4 separate regions of the Homo sapiens genome follow, and regions 2, 3 and 4 are each linked to region 1. The links are contacts of gene promoters, found by promoter capture Hi-C in human tissues and cell types (Jung and others, 2019). All regions are on one chromosome and are shown on one strand. The core of a region is centred on a gene start or on the middle of the fragment in contact, and the rest is flanking DNA. Distances in the headings are between cores, read along the strand shown. Region 1 holds the start of B4GALNT3 (beta-1,4-N-acetyl-galactosaminyltransferase 3). Region 2 overlaps ERC1 (ELKS/RAB6-interacting/CAST family member 1). Region 3 overlaps ERC1 (ELKS/RAB6-interacting/CAST family member 1). Region 4 overlaps ERC1 (ELKS/RAB6-interacting/CAST family member 1).

Region 1 (2,815 bases), core at 104-2,603:
TCTACCTGCTGCCCGGTCCACTGTGCTGTCCATCATCTCCTTAAACTGGGGAGTTTGGTAGATTTGCTCAGGGTTCAGAAAAGTGGCAGAAGGGGCGGCCCGAACAGGAGAAAGAGGGCGCAGCGAGGAGGTGGGAGATTCAAAGAGCCGAGGACGGAGGCTGGGAGAGGAGCGACGTATGGGAAGCGGGGAAGAGACGGGACTCTCCGAGGTATGGTAAAAAAGAACCCCCCTAGAAGATGCAGCAGGAGAGGAAACGGAGTGAGCCAAACAGAAGGCGGTGGGCAAAGTTTGGGCTGCGCGGACTGGAGCGCGCGCCTGGGTGTGGACGGCCGAGGGCATCCCGCACCCGAATCCCTAGCTCGCGCGTGGACCCCACGGACCTCCTCCCCGGGAACCGCAAGCCCGGAGCGGCTGGAGGGGCCCGGTCTCCGCCAGCGTCTCGGCGGGACGGGCGGGGAGCCTCTCTCCGGGTCGCTCTCCGAGGGGAGACGCGAGGAGCCCCCAGGGTGCCCCGGACCCACGTGGCCGGCGGGCAGGCCCGGGCTCGGGAATTCTGCGCTCGGCCCCGCGGCTTCCCCCGCCCGCAGCTCTCCCCGAGTACGCGCGGGGCGACGCCGGGCACCTGAGGGAGAAATGGGTGGGAAATCGGGTCTGAGGATGGGATGAGAGGCGGGTCCCCCCAACGCAGGAGCCGCCGCCGCCGCCCACCCCCGCGCCCTTCGCCTCCCCTGGGTGCTACTTACTCCGGTTCAGGGGGTTCCCGCCGACCTGGGCCGACGCCACCAGTTCCAGATACAGAGTCCAGAGCCCCACAGACACCACGGCGAGCGCCAGCAGCAGCCGGAAGCGCCTCCGCAGCAGCTTCACCGGGCGCAGGAGCAGCGGGGGCCGCGCGGCCCGGGGGCTCCCCATGGCGCTGCGCCGAGGCGGCCGCCGCCAGCGCGGGCTCCAACCCCCCGAGCCGCCGCCCCCCGGCCGGGCCCCGCGCCCAGGGCGCCCCGCGTCCCGGCCCAGCGTCTCAGGGCTGCGCCGAGGCCGTCTCTCCCGGCCGCTCTCCGGCGGGGCTCGGGCTCATGCTCCGGGCGCGAGGGGTCTCCGGGCTGCGCGGGCGCCCAGCAGGTCTCTCCGGGAGCCGAGCCCGGCTCCTCCTCCGCGCGTGTGTTCCGCGCCGGGCTCTCCTCCCCACGCCTCTCCCGTCGCAGGCTCGCTGCCGCCCTCCCTCCCTGCGCGCCCGCCCTCACTCGCTGCCCAGAAGGAGGCTTCCCCGGCGCCCGCCCGCCTGCCTCCGCCCGCGCCCCCGCCAGCCCCGGACCGGGCTCCGGGCTCTGGGCTCTCCTGCTCGCGGAACCTGGCCCGCCCCCGGCCCCGCCCCCGCCCCCGCCCCGGGCACAGGTGGGCTCCGCCCCCGAGAAGCCAGGGACGCGAAGAGGCCATTCGGCTTCCCTAGGGGAGCGAGAGGTGGGGCCAGAGAACTGGTGCCTGGTGCCTCCCCCGACTGGGAACGGGTGGGATGAGGAGGGGGCGAGTGATGATGCGGACTCTGGGTGACCGAGGGAAACCGAGTCACCACCCAGGCGCCTAACGGTGTGGTTTTAGGCAGAAGCGAAGTAGAGGCTGGTTTGGGCGACGCCCAAGGCTTTAGCCTCAGAGCCTTTCGTCGCCAACAGCAACGACCCGACTCCCTGCTTGACGAAACCAGTAGGCGTGAAATATCACGGGAGCCACTGGACGCTTAACGCAGACATAGCTTCGTTTTCCAGTTGAGATTTGAAGACCTTTCTTCCCAGCCTGAACCACATCTCCGAGAGGCGCTGGGGAAGTCGTACAGCCCCCACGGTGAACCCCAGCAAGCAGTTTTCCCCAGACTGGGCTGGAATGGCTGTTTGAAGAGAGTAGGTGTTTGAGGGTTCCGAAAAAGAATTTTAAAAAGAAAAGAAAAGTATTCACTCTTAGAGTTGAAAAGATCAGCAAGATAAGCCAGGCACAGTGGCTCACGGCTGTCGTCCCAGCACTTTGAGAGGCTGAGGCAAGAGGATCTCTTGATCTCTGGAGGTCAAGGCTGCAGTGAGCCGTGATTGCGTCAGTGCACTCCAGCCTGGGCAACACAGCAAGACCCTGTCTCAAAAAAAAAAAAATCAGTATTCCAGTCCTCTGCCTTCAGGCAGGTAAAGCATTATTATCTGATTTAAATTAGATAAAGTATCAAGGGGCAGAATAACTGCCCCAGGTCACTCAGCAAGTTATACTGCAGTTTTCTTTTCCATTATCTCTTCTGGGAAAAATGGTCAGGAGACTATGGGAAAAGTGAAGGATCAAAGTGTTCCTGGACATTTTAAAATCAAATGAATATCACACAAGTACTGTTCCAAGACAGAGGTTCTCACAGAATTGAGAACTATGTTTCCCTTCTCTCTGTTCTCACCTCAGTTGGATATTCAATAGTTTCTACAGGACTTTTCCTAATTAGCCTCCCCAACTCCAAGCTTCCCATCGCATCCTGTCCACTACCACCAGATGGTCTTCATAAAAAGCCAGGCATGGTGACACACACCTGTAGTCCTAACTTACTCGGGAGGCTGAGGTGGGAGGAGTGTAAGGTTGTAGTGAGCCACAATCATGCCACTGCACTCCAGCCTGGGTGACAGAGCAAGACCTTGTCTCAAAAAAAAAAAAAAAAAAAAAAAAATCCCGTATGTAGTCACACACCTGCTCAAAAATATTTAATGGCTTCCAATGCTTATTGATTAAGATACACACTGTAAATCCAGAATTCAGGGCCTTCCAGAACCTTTTCCAACTTTATGTGACCACA
Region 2 (2,700 bases), core at 97-2,596, 580 kb before region 1:
ACAGAATTATCAAAAAGAAAATTAAAACAATAATCTAAGACATAGATCCCAAATTTTAAGATCAGACTTTAAATGACAGTGAAACAACTAGCAACCTCATGACAAAGTTTATTTAAGGCCAGGAGCAGTGGCTCACACCTGTAATCCCAACACTTTGGGAGGCCGAGGTTGACAGATCACCTGAGGCCAGGAGTTTGAGACCAGCCTGCCCAACATGGCGAAACACCATCTCTACTAAAAATACAAAAAATTAGCCGGGCGTGGTGGCGTGCACCTGCAGTTCCAGCTACTCAGGAGGCTGAGGCAGGAGAATCACTTGAACCTGGGAGGTGGAGGCTGCACTGAGCCGAGATCGCACCATTGCACTCCAGGCTGGGCAACAAGAGCAAAACTCTGTCTCAAAAAAAAAAAAAAAAAGTTTATTTAATGGCAAATAATAATGGCTTTTATCATGCGGCAAATCAAGATACAACCTAAAATTATATAAATGTTAATAGTCAAAAGTCTCCAAATAATGAGAAAAAAAAATGACAAAGAATTACACAAGGTTATCTTTTTGCAGTTCTGAACTAGAAATTCTCGATTCCTAAGTAAATGAGCAACATAAAAATCAGACTCCAAAAAGAGAAGAAACACAACACACAAGGCAAAAAACATTAAATTCACCTGCCGTCCTATAATATTAAACAGTATTTTGTTCATGAAATATTTCAATGACAGTGCTTTAAATAAACATTTTTAAAATAAGCTTCCAACTAAATTTAACATACAGAATTATTTCAAGGCATAATTTAAAAAGTATGATGATAATCTGGTTAAATGCTGTTTAGAATTTAAAAAAAAAATCATCCAAAGTATTTTTTTTTTTCTGAGACGGAGTCATGCTCTGTCTCCCAGGCTGGAGTGCAGTGGTGCGATCTCAGCTCACTGCAAGCTCCGCCTCTCGGGTTCACGCCATTCTCCTGCCTCAGCCTCCCGAGTAGCTGGGACTACAGGTGCCCGCCACCACACTCAGCTAATTTTTTGTATTTTTAGTAGAGACGGGGTTTCACCGTGTTAGCCAGGATGGTCTCGATCTCCTGACCTCGTGATCCGCCCACCTCAGCCTCCCAAAGTGCTGGGATTATAGGCATGAGCCACTGAGCCCGGCCCCATCCAAAGTCTTAGTAGCTCTGCAGTTCCACCAAGCTCACAGCTAGATTTTCATTCTTTGTCAAACATACACCAAAAACCTTCCTGACTCCCAATTTTAAAAAAGAAAAAGAAAAAGCCTTCCCTGTTACATACTATTCTAACTCTCCAACCAGCAGTATTTGAAAGTTCAGTAACAAAAGGATGAGACATAAAAATTGCTGAGTATTTATATCAGAAACATCTTCTAAAAGAACTCCATAATAAAGAACCACACATATCAAGTAATTCTAAGCAAATGCGTCTTTACATCTAATAGGATCCTAGAACAAGATCTCTATGGTCCAATCAGATCCAATATTTAGAATGGACCTAAATCCCCAGTCTCAAACTGAAATGGGGAAACCATTTAATTACTGTAAATCCTATTAAACCAATCTTCTTTATCAAGTGGAAGATGCCTGACCTCTGAGGGCTATGGAGGGTATAATGAATGCAGAGTTTAATTAGGCCCCACTGCTGGCTGACTATAATCTATTAATTAGCATTCTCTGTCTCTGTATCTCATTGCAGTGTTTCACTTTACTTTAAAATTGCACCCTTCGTTTTTTGGACCAAAGTTATACAATTTTAGGATTGTGTAGTAATTACAGTGGGTATACGGAGAATGCATCGCTGCCAGCACTGGTGTTTAATTAGGGCAAGGGGTGGAATCTAGATAAGGCGGTGTTCACCATTCTTCAGCACATATGGGTTTTTTGGCATGAAAATCCTGTGGACTGTTTCACTGGAACTGAAGTATTCAGAAGATTCAAATATTTTGTCTTTGAATGCAGACTGATACTTAGAAAGGATATTACGTATTTTCCACACAGCTTCTGAAGTACAGGCATAAACAATTGCTTCAATTATTCCAAAATGAACAAGTACGCCAATAACTTTTTTCATTAAAATTGACATTTCTGAGTCACTTCATAATAAAAACTATCTTAGTGAGGGGCATAGTTTCAGCATCATCAACAAGGTATAACGGTGACTAGCTAATTCCAGGTATAATGGTGATAAATCCAGTAACTTCAAATCTACTCTAAATTTGATACACACACACACGTATAATCTGACACACACATATACTGTCAATCCATTCTTGAAAAGTAGAGCCTTTAAAAAGAAGTGTTTATTCACATGCAATTTTTCCACAATATTTCTTAATTATTTTAAATTTTTATTTATTTTTTTATTTATTTTTAAGAGACAAGGTCTCACTATGTTGCCCAGGCTGGACTCAAACTCCTGGACTCGAGGGATTCTCCTGCCTCAGCCTCCTGAGTAGCTAAGACTACATGCATATATTACCATACCCAGCTCACAATATTTCTTATAATAAAAAATTATGTCTCAGCCACTTTTCAATTAAATCAAACTGTGATTTTTTATTAACAATACATTTGAAATTGTATAATATTCAAATATGATACACTATGATAATTATCTAAATACATATAAAGAATCTCATATTTGGGCACTAGTATACACCATTACATACTCCAAATTTACCAATCTCATTTT
Region 3 (2,915 bases), core at 242-2,741, 660 kb before region 1:
AAAAACACTAACTTTATTTTCAAACAGGATATGAAGACACATTGTCTAATAATCTGTGGTTTAAAATTAGACTATCTAGAACTTTAACAGATTCCAGTTTCCTATATACAGTTATTCATAATATCACAACTTAAAGACACTTAAATGTACTCCAAACACAGTGTAACCAAGCTCATTGTCATTCATGACTAGAAAATTCACCAGGGGTTGAACTGAAGCTTCTAAATCAATGATTTCTCTTTTACAATTATCCTTTTATTTTTAATACTGTCAGAGTATACTTTGAAGTACAGACTTGGCAAAAGTTTAAAGAATTAAAAACATAAACTGCACCTGTTTTAACTTGTTAGATCTAAGAACAACTGAAATAAGATGGTTACATTTTAGCACAGTGACTGATCACGCTGCTGAAGAATTAATCATAACATTACTCATATTTCCCAATTCTAAACATAACAAAAACAGCACAGGTAACGCTTATGAAAAGGTGCCAAGAAACCAACTCCCCACAAATCCCAGAATTGTTTCTACCTCAGTCTGCAGGATGGCAGCCCTCTGCTCCTTAGCAGTCAAGGACTCCTTCAACACTTCAATGTGCTGTTTACTATCTGAGAACTGGTTTGTGAGTGTTTCTAGCTTTGTCTGCAGGGCGAGTAGTTCTGTGTCCTTTCTGGACAGCTCCTGTTTCACCTGGCCAATCTAGAAAAGAAGTAAAACACTTTAAGGAAAAAAGAAATAAAACAAACACCTCTTATCTGTATCTTTCACAGATCTGAGTCACAAAATATGAAACTAAATGCAGCACGAACTGTGTGATAGGTCATATTCATCTTTTTGCATGACATAACCTTGGATCTCCCCAACCCTGAGCCAAAAAAAACCACTAAACTTATTCAACCAATAGGGAAATGTCCAGTTTTCATTTATTGTGTCTTCTAAATATTCTTTGAAACCTCTTAGAAAGGGAATGGAGGGAAAGGAAATTCCAATTCAATTAGATGACTATGAGACAGCAGTAAGCAACTGAACACCACTGTACTGATGAAATGGTTTTCATTTTTCTAGGTGAGACCTCTTCAGAACATGATGGATCAAATGCAGGATGAGTGCAGATATAACAAAAAAGGTTTTAGAAACCTCCTAGTACTATTTAAAATTCAAAATCTGCTGCTGTTGTGCTAATTTTTCACTGTTATCTTTTTCATTCTCAAAAGTTTGCATAAAATTCTTATCTTAAAAAGCCACTTTTAATGTTATACATAACATGGTTTTGTAAAATCCTATAATTTGATGTTATGTGTATTGATTAATTTCTCTCTTAACATTGAAAGTATTTTCTTTCTAACACCTTCTTTACATTCCTGTTTTCTAAGAATTTTAAAAATAGTTTTTTACCCTAAATGGAAGCCATGTAAACAGAAATTACATCTCCTTTTAAATTATGTCTACCACCTAACAAGGAACTAAAAAAGATACTAATTATTGGAAGTATACATTTGACAAGTCAGTAATTTCGGTGTCACTGATGAAACAAAAAGTTATCTTTTCATTTTCAAAAACTTGAATGTATCTAAAGTATTGTAATTGTAATAATCTTAGGTATAAGGGATAAAGCTTTTGAGAACAATTTCCCATGAAGAAATAAATTTCACATTAATTAAAATTAGACCTTTGAGGAACACCAAAAATAAATTTCCAATTTAGCCTTCTGTTTCAAAAAAGATTAAGTATTTTTCTCATATGCATAAAATCTCTTTTTAGAGATATAGTTATTCATTCATTCAACAAATATTTCTGTATGCTTATTGTATACAAAGTACCTGAGGATACTAAAAACATCAGTGGAAGATAATTTTAAACGGTGGCTATATTCATCCTGCAAAATAGTATGTACCCAAGAGTTAGCACACACTGTAACAACGTGGAGTCTTTTATGATATCCCTTCACCAATAAAAACAACCCATTAACACTATTCCATTCCCTAACACACTGATTGTAACAAAAACACATTTGTTGTATGAATGAATATTTTGGGGGATGTTCAAAGTGTTACCATTTTCTCAGCTAAAGAACTATGACTAAGATTATTCAAATTTCCAGCTACCTCCAATCACGTGGTCAAAAATAAATATAAAAATCTGTTTCGTCATCATCTGCATTATTAAGTAAGCTTCAAATAATGCTATATTGACCTTAAAGACTAAGAAAGAAAAGAAAATATTTTAAATGAAAAGCAGGGTTTAGGCCGGGTGCAGTGGCTCACGCCTGTAATCATTGCACTTTGGAAGGCCGAGGCGGGTGGATCACAAGGTCAGGAGATCAAGACCATCCTGGCCAACATAGTGAAACCCATCTCTACTAAAAATACAAAAATCAGCTGGGCATGGTGGCGCATGCCTGTAATCCCAGCTACTCAGGAGGCTGAGGCAGGAGAATCGCTTGAACCAGGGAGTCAGAGGTTGCAGTGAGCCGAGATCTCGCCACTGCACTCCAGCCTGGCGACAGAGAAAGACTCTGTCTCAAAAAAATAAAGAAAAAGAAAAAAAGAAAAGAAAAGCAGAGTTTAGAAGCACAAATTTTCCTTAAAGACTGAGAAGGGAAGACATTATAAAGGGGAAGCAAATATAATACAAAGCTTAGGAGCACAAGGCTTTGCAGACATTCACCTATCAGAACTAAGCTAGCTATGTGTCCCTGAATAATTACTTTCCTAATCAGTTTCCTAATTAGTAATAAGGAGAAATTATACGAATGCCACTGTACTGTTTATGGATTCAGTAAAATAAAGCGTGAAATGTGCTTAGCCTGTTGTCTGACTCAATGCAGAAATTACTAATAGTAGCTATTTTAAAAAGGAAGTTATTGATCAACCTTCCCTCTAGCCAATATATGGTTTCCATAAACCAAATTAGAC
Region 4 (2,700 bases), core at 73-2,572, 640 kb before region 1:
ATCCCAGCTACTGGGGAGGCTGAGGCAGGAGAATGGCTTGAACCCAGGAGGTGGAGGTTGCAGTGAGCCGAGATGGTGCCACTGCAGTCCAGCCTGGGTGACAGAGCAAGACTCTGTCAAAAAAAAAAAAAAAAAAAAAAAAAAAAAAAATCAAAGTCTCAAGCAGGCTCATCCTTATTACCCCATTTTCACTTATGATTTGACTCTAATATACATCCCCAATCTCCCTAACCAAGATCTACTTTTTTCTTGGTATTTATAACTGTTTGTTTATTGTTTGTCTCTCCTATCCCAGGAATTTTTCTTTTTTATTCTCTGATGTATATCAGCACCCAGAACAATACACAGTACAATGATAGTACTCAAATATTTGTCAAATGAATGAAAATACTTTTTAAGTAACTGTATAATTCATATGTAAAAAGTGTTATAAAGAAAATATCCACAATACTGTAAGAGAGTAATTAGGAGATCCTGACGTAGTCTTGGGATCTTGTAAAGTTTCCTAAGGAACACCTGAGAGCTGAAGGATGAACAGGAGTTAGAGTGGGCAAAGTGCAACCATAAAAAGGGAGGGGAAAGATGATCTCACAGGTATGTTTTCGGCCAACTAAAATCCAGAGAATGACACATGGGAGTTGAGAATCTGAAACTGCCCACACACCACTGCAGAGTCTCTGTGAACTCCAAGGTGTTCAAATGCCTGCCCTGAAGACAGCTGGTCCACACCTGCTATCTCTCCTTCTTCCTCTCCCTCTCCCATTCACTCTTTTTATTTTAATTAATTTTAAAATATTTCAGACATACAAGATTCCCTTTACCTCATAAAAGCAGCCTAATCTGGCTTGTTTCTCTACCCCTCCATTGAAACAACTCATCAAGACCACCAACGAATTCTAAGTTACCAACTCTAACAAACACATTTCTGTCCTCATCTCCCTGGAACTCTCAGAAGCATTCAAAGCAACGGCCCAATCCCTCCTAGACACTTGTTTTCTCTTGACTATTAGGACATCACACTCTCCTGTTTTTAGTTCTCACTCTCCAGTTGCACTTTCTCTGTTTCCTTCACAGGTTCTTCCTTCTAAATCAGACCTCCAGGTCTAAATTAGACCAGTGACCAGGTGATCAGTTCTAACCTTTTTCTCTTTTCCATCTAAACTCTTTAATCTACTACATGGTTTAAAATACAACGGAAATGCTGATGAATTTCTAGGCCTGCCCTCTGCTCTGATTTCAGGACTCATACATCCAACTGCCCATTTGGCATCTCTATTTAGATGTCTAACAGGCAACTCACACTTATTTTATCAAAAAAAATTCTTGATTTCCTCTTCTTCAATCTCACCCATCATCTGGTGACTCTGATGAGAGATGAGTCTTCTCTGTCTCATTAAATGGCACTGCCATTCCAGTGGCTCAAGCCAAACACCAAAGCTCTCCTTTTTCTCCTCCTGATATTCATTTCCCACAACCAAGTCAACAGCAGGTCCTAACTGTTCTAGTGCGGAAGTATTTCTTGAGTCTAACCATTTCACCCCATTTCCAGTCTAGTTTGCAACAGCCTCTAGTTAGCTTTCTTCCACCTCCTTTGTCTATTTTCAAGAGAGCACCAGGGTGATCTTGATAAAATATCCACAAATCATGGCATTAATCTGCTTTAAATCTTTCAATAAATTTACCATTATACTTCTCACTTTGACCATAAGGTGAGATGGGCCTTCCTGTCATAAACTATCATAAAATTAAACAAAATGCATGAAATAACTGTTTTCAGACCCTGGATAACAAGCAATACAGGACTATGATCCTTGAGAGAAAATAAACAAGGTGATGGCCCAGATATGTCTAGTATGGGGCGTAGGGAGGGAAAGCCCAAACAAAGAACAGCAGTCTTGCAAAGCTCCAAAGACAGTTTAATGAGTAAGGTTCCCATTAATCTGCAAAACTTTGCGGAGCAAAATACCAGAGGTCCGGGCACCATGGCTCACGCCTGTAATCCCAGCACTTTGGGAGGCCAAGGCGGGCAGATCACTTGAGGCCAGGAGTTCAAGACCAGCCTGGCAAACATGGCAAAACCCCGTCTCTTCCAAAAATACAAAAAGTAGCTGAGCATGGTGGGGGGCACCTGCAATCCCAGCTACTCGGGAGGCTGAGGAAGGAGAATCGCTTGAACCTGGGGGGCAGAGGTTACAGTCAGCCGAGATCGCGACATTGCACTCCAGCTTGGGCAACAGAGTGAGACTCTGTCTCAAAAAAAAAAAAAAAAATTAAAAATTAAAAACAAAACACAGAGAAGGGAGCTTACCAGAAAAGCAGCACTGTCTAACCTGACAAGGGTCCCCTTGAGTCTTTGGCCAAATACTAAGCTGTGCATGTATAGGGCAAGCTGCCACAAAATAAGATCAAGAGCTACTGGAGAAAGAGCAACTATCAGAGAGCCATGAGTTGAGTAACTACCTGAACCCCATAGGGCTGGGAAAAATTCAAGTTCCAAATAGTGGGGAGAACAGCAGAGGCATTTAGTAGAGACACTAAAAGGTCAAGCTTAGGAGTAGAGCTGATGTAGCCTAGAGAAAAGGCTATTCTAAACCAGGCCTAACAGAGTTTAAAAGCAAGTCTTGAAAGGATCAAGTTAATCCCCAAGTAAATTAACTCTTGCCAGACAAAACAACCCTTCATTAAGGAAGGTACCAAAAT

What was found. Contacts are between HindIII fragments. The study calls those that stand out against the background at their distance.
Region 2: a fragment that was not itself captured here is called in contact with the fragment with the promoter of B4GALNT3 in region 1 in 1 of the 25 tissues and cell types used here (heart right ventricle).
Region 3: a fragment that was not itself captured here is called in contact with the fragment with the promoter of B4GALNT3 in region 1 in 2 of the 25 tissues and cell types used here (dorsolateral prefrontal cortex and heart left ventricle).
Region 4: a fragment that was not itself captured here is called in contact with the fragment with the promoter of B4GALNT3 in region 1 in 1 of the 25 tissues and cell types used here (lymphoblastoid cells).

The regions. Positions count from the first base shown.
Region 1 is chr12:458,477-461,291 of GRCh38, reverse strand. It overlaps B4GALNT3 (beta-1,4-N-acetyl-galactosaminyltransferase 3), which reads right to left and starts at 1,353. Exons shown (of 20, transcript NM_173593.4): 1 at 747-1,353. The coding sequence starts at 915. RefSeq lists an enhancer at 1,202-2,185. The HindIII fragment of the contact is 8,839 bases long and covers 1-2,706 here.
Region 2 is chr12:1,034,092-1,036,791 of GRCh38, reverse strand. All of the region lies in intron 2 of ERC1 (ELKS/RAB6-interacting/CAST family member 1), which reads right to left. Among named protein-coding and RNA genes, the nearest start is that of ERC1, 44 kb to the right of the region's middle. The HindIII fragment of the contact is 8,762 bases long and covers 1-2,700 here.
Region 3 is chr12:1,113,650-1,116,564 of GRCh38, reverse strand. It overlaps ERC1 (ELKS/RAB6-interacting/CAST family member 1), which reads right to left. Exons shown (of 19, transcript NM_178040.4): 7 at 532-699. It overlaps LOC124902857 (a long non-coding RNA gene), which reads left to right. Exons shown (of 3, transcript XR_007063157.1): 3 at 1,066-1,151. Among named protein-coding and RNA genes, the nearest start is that of ERC1, 120 kb to the right of the region's middle. RefSeq lists an enhancer at 1-1,165. The HindIII fragment of the contact is 4,498 bases long and covers 1-2,915 here.
Region 4 is chr12:1,097,286-1,099,985 of GRCh38, reverse strand. The region is part of intron 3 of ERC1 (ELKS/RAB6-interacting/CAST family member 1); the gene reads right to left. Among named protein-coding and RNA genes, the nearest start is that of ERC1, 110 kb to the right of the region's middle. The HindIII fragment of the contact is 4,018 bases long and covers 1-2,700 here.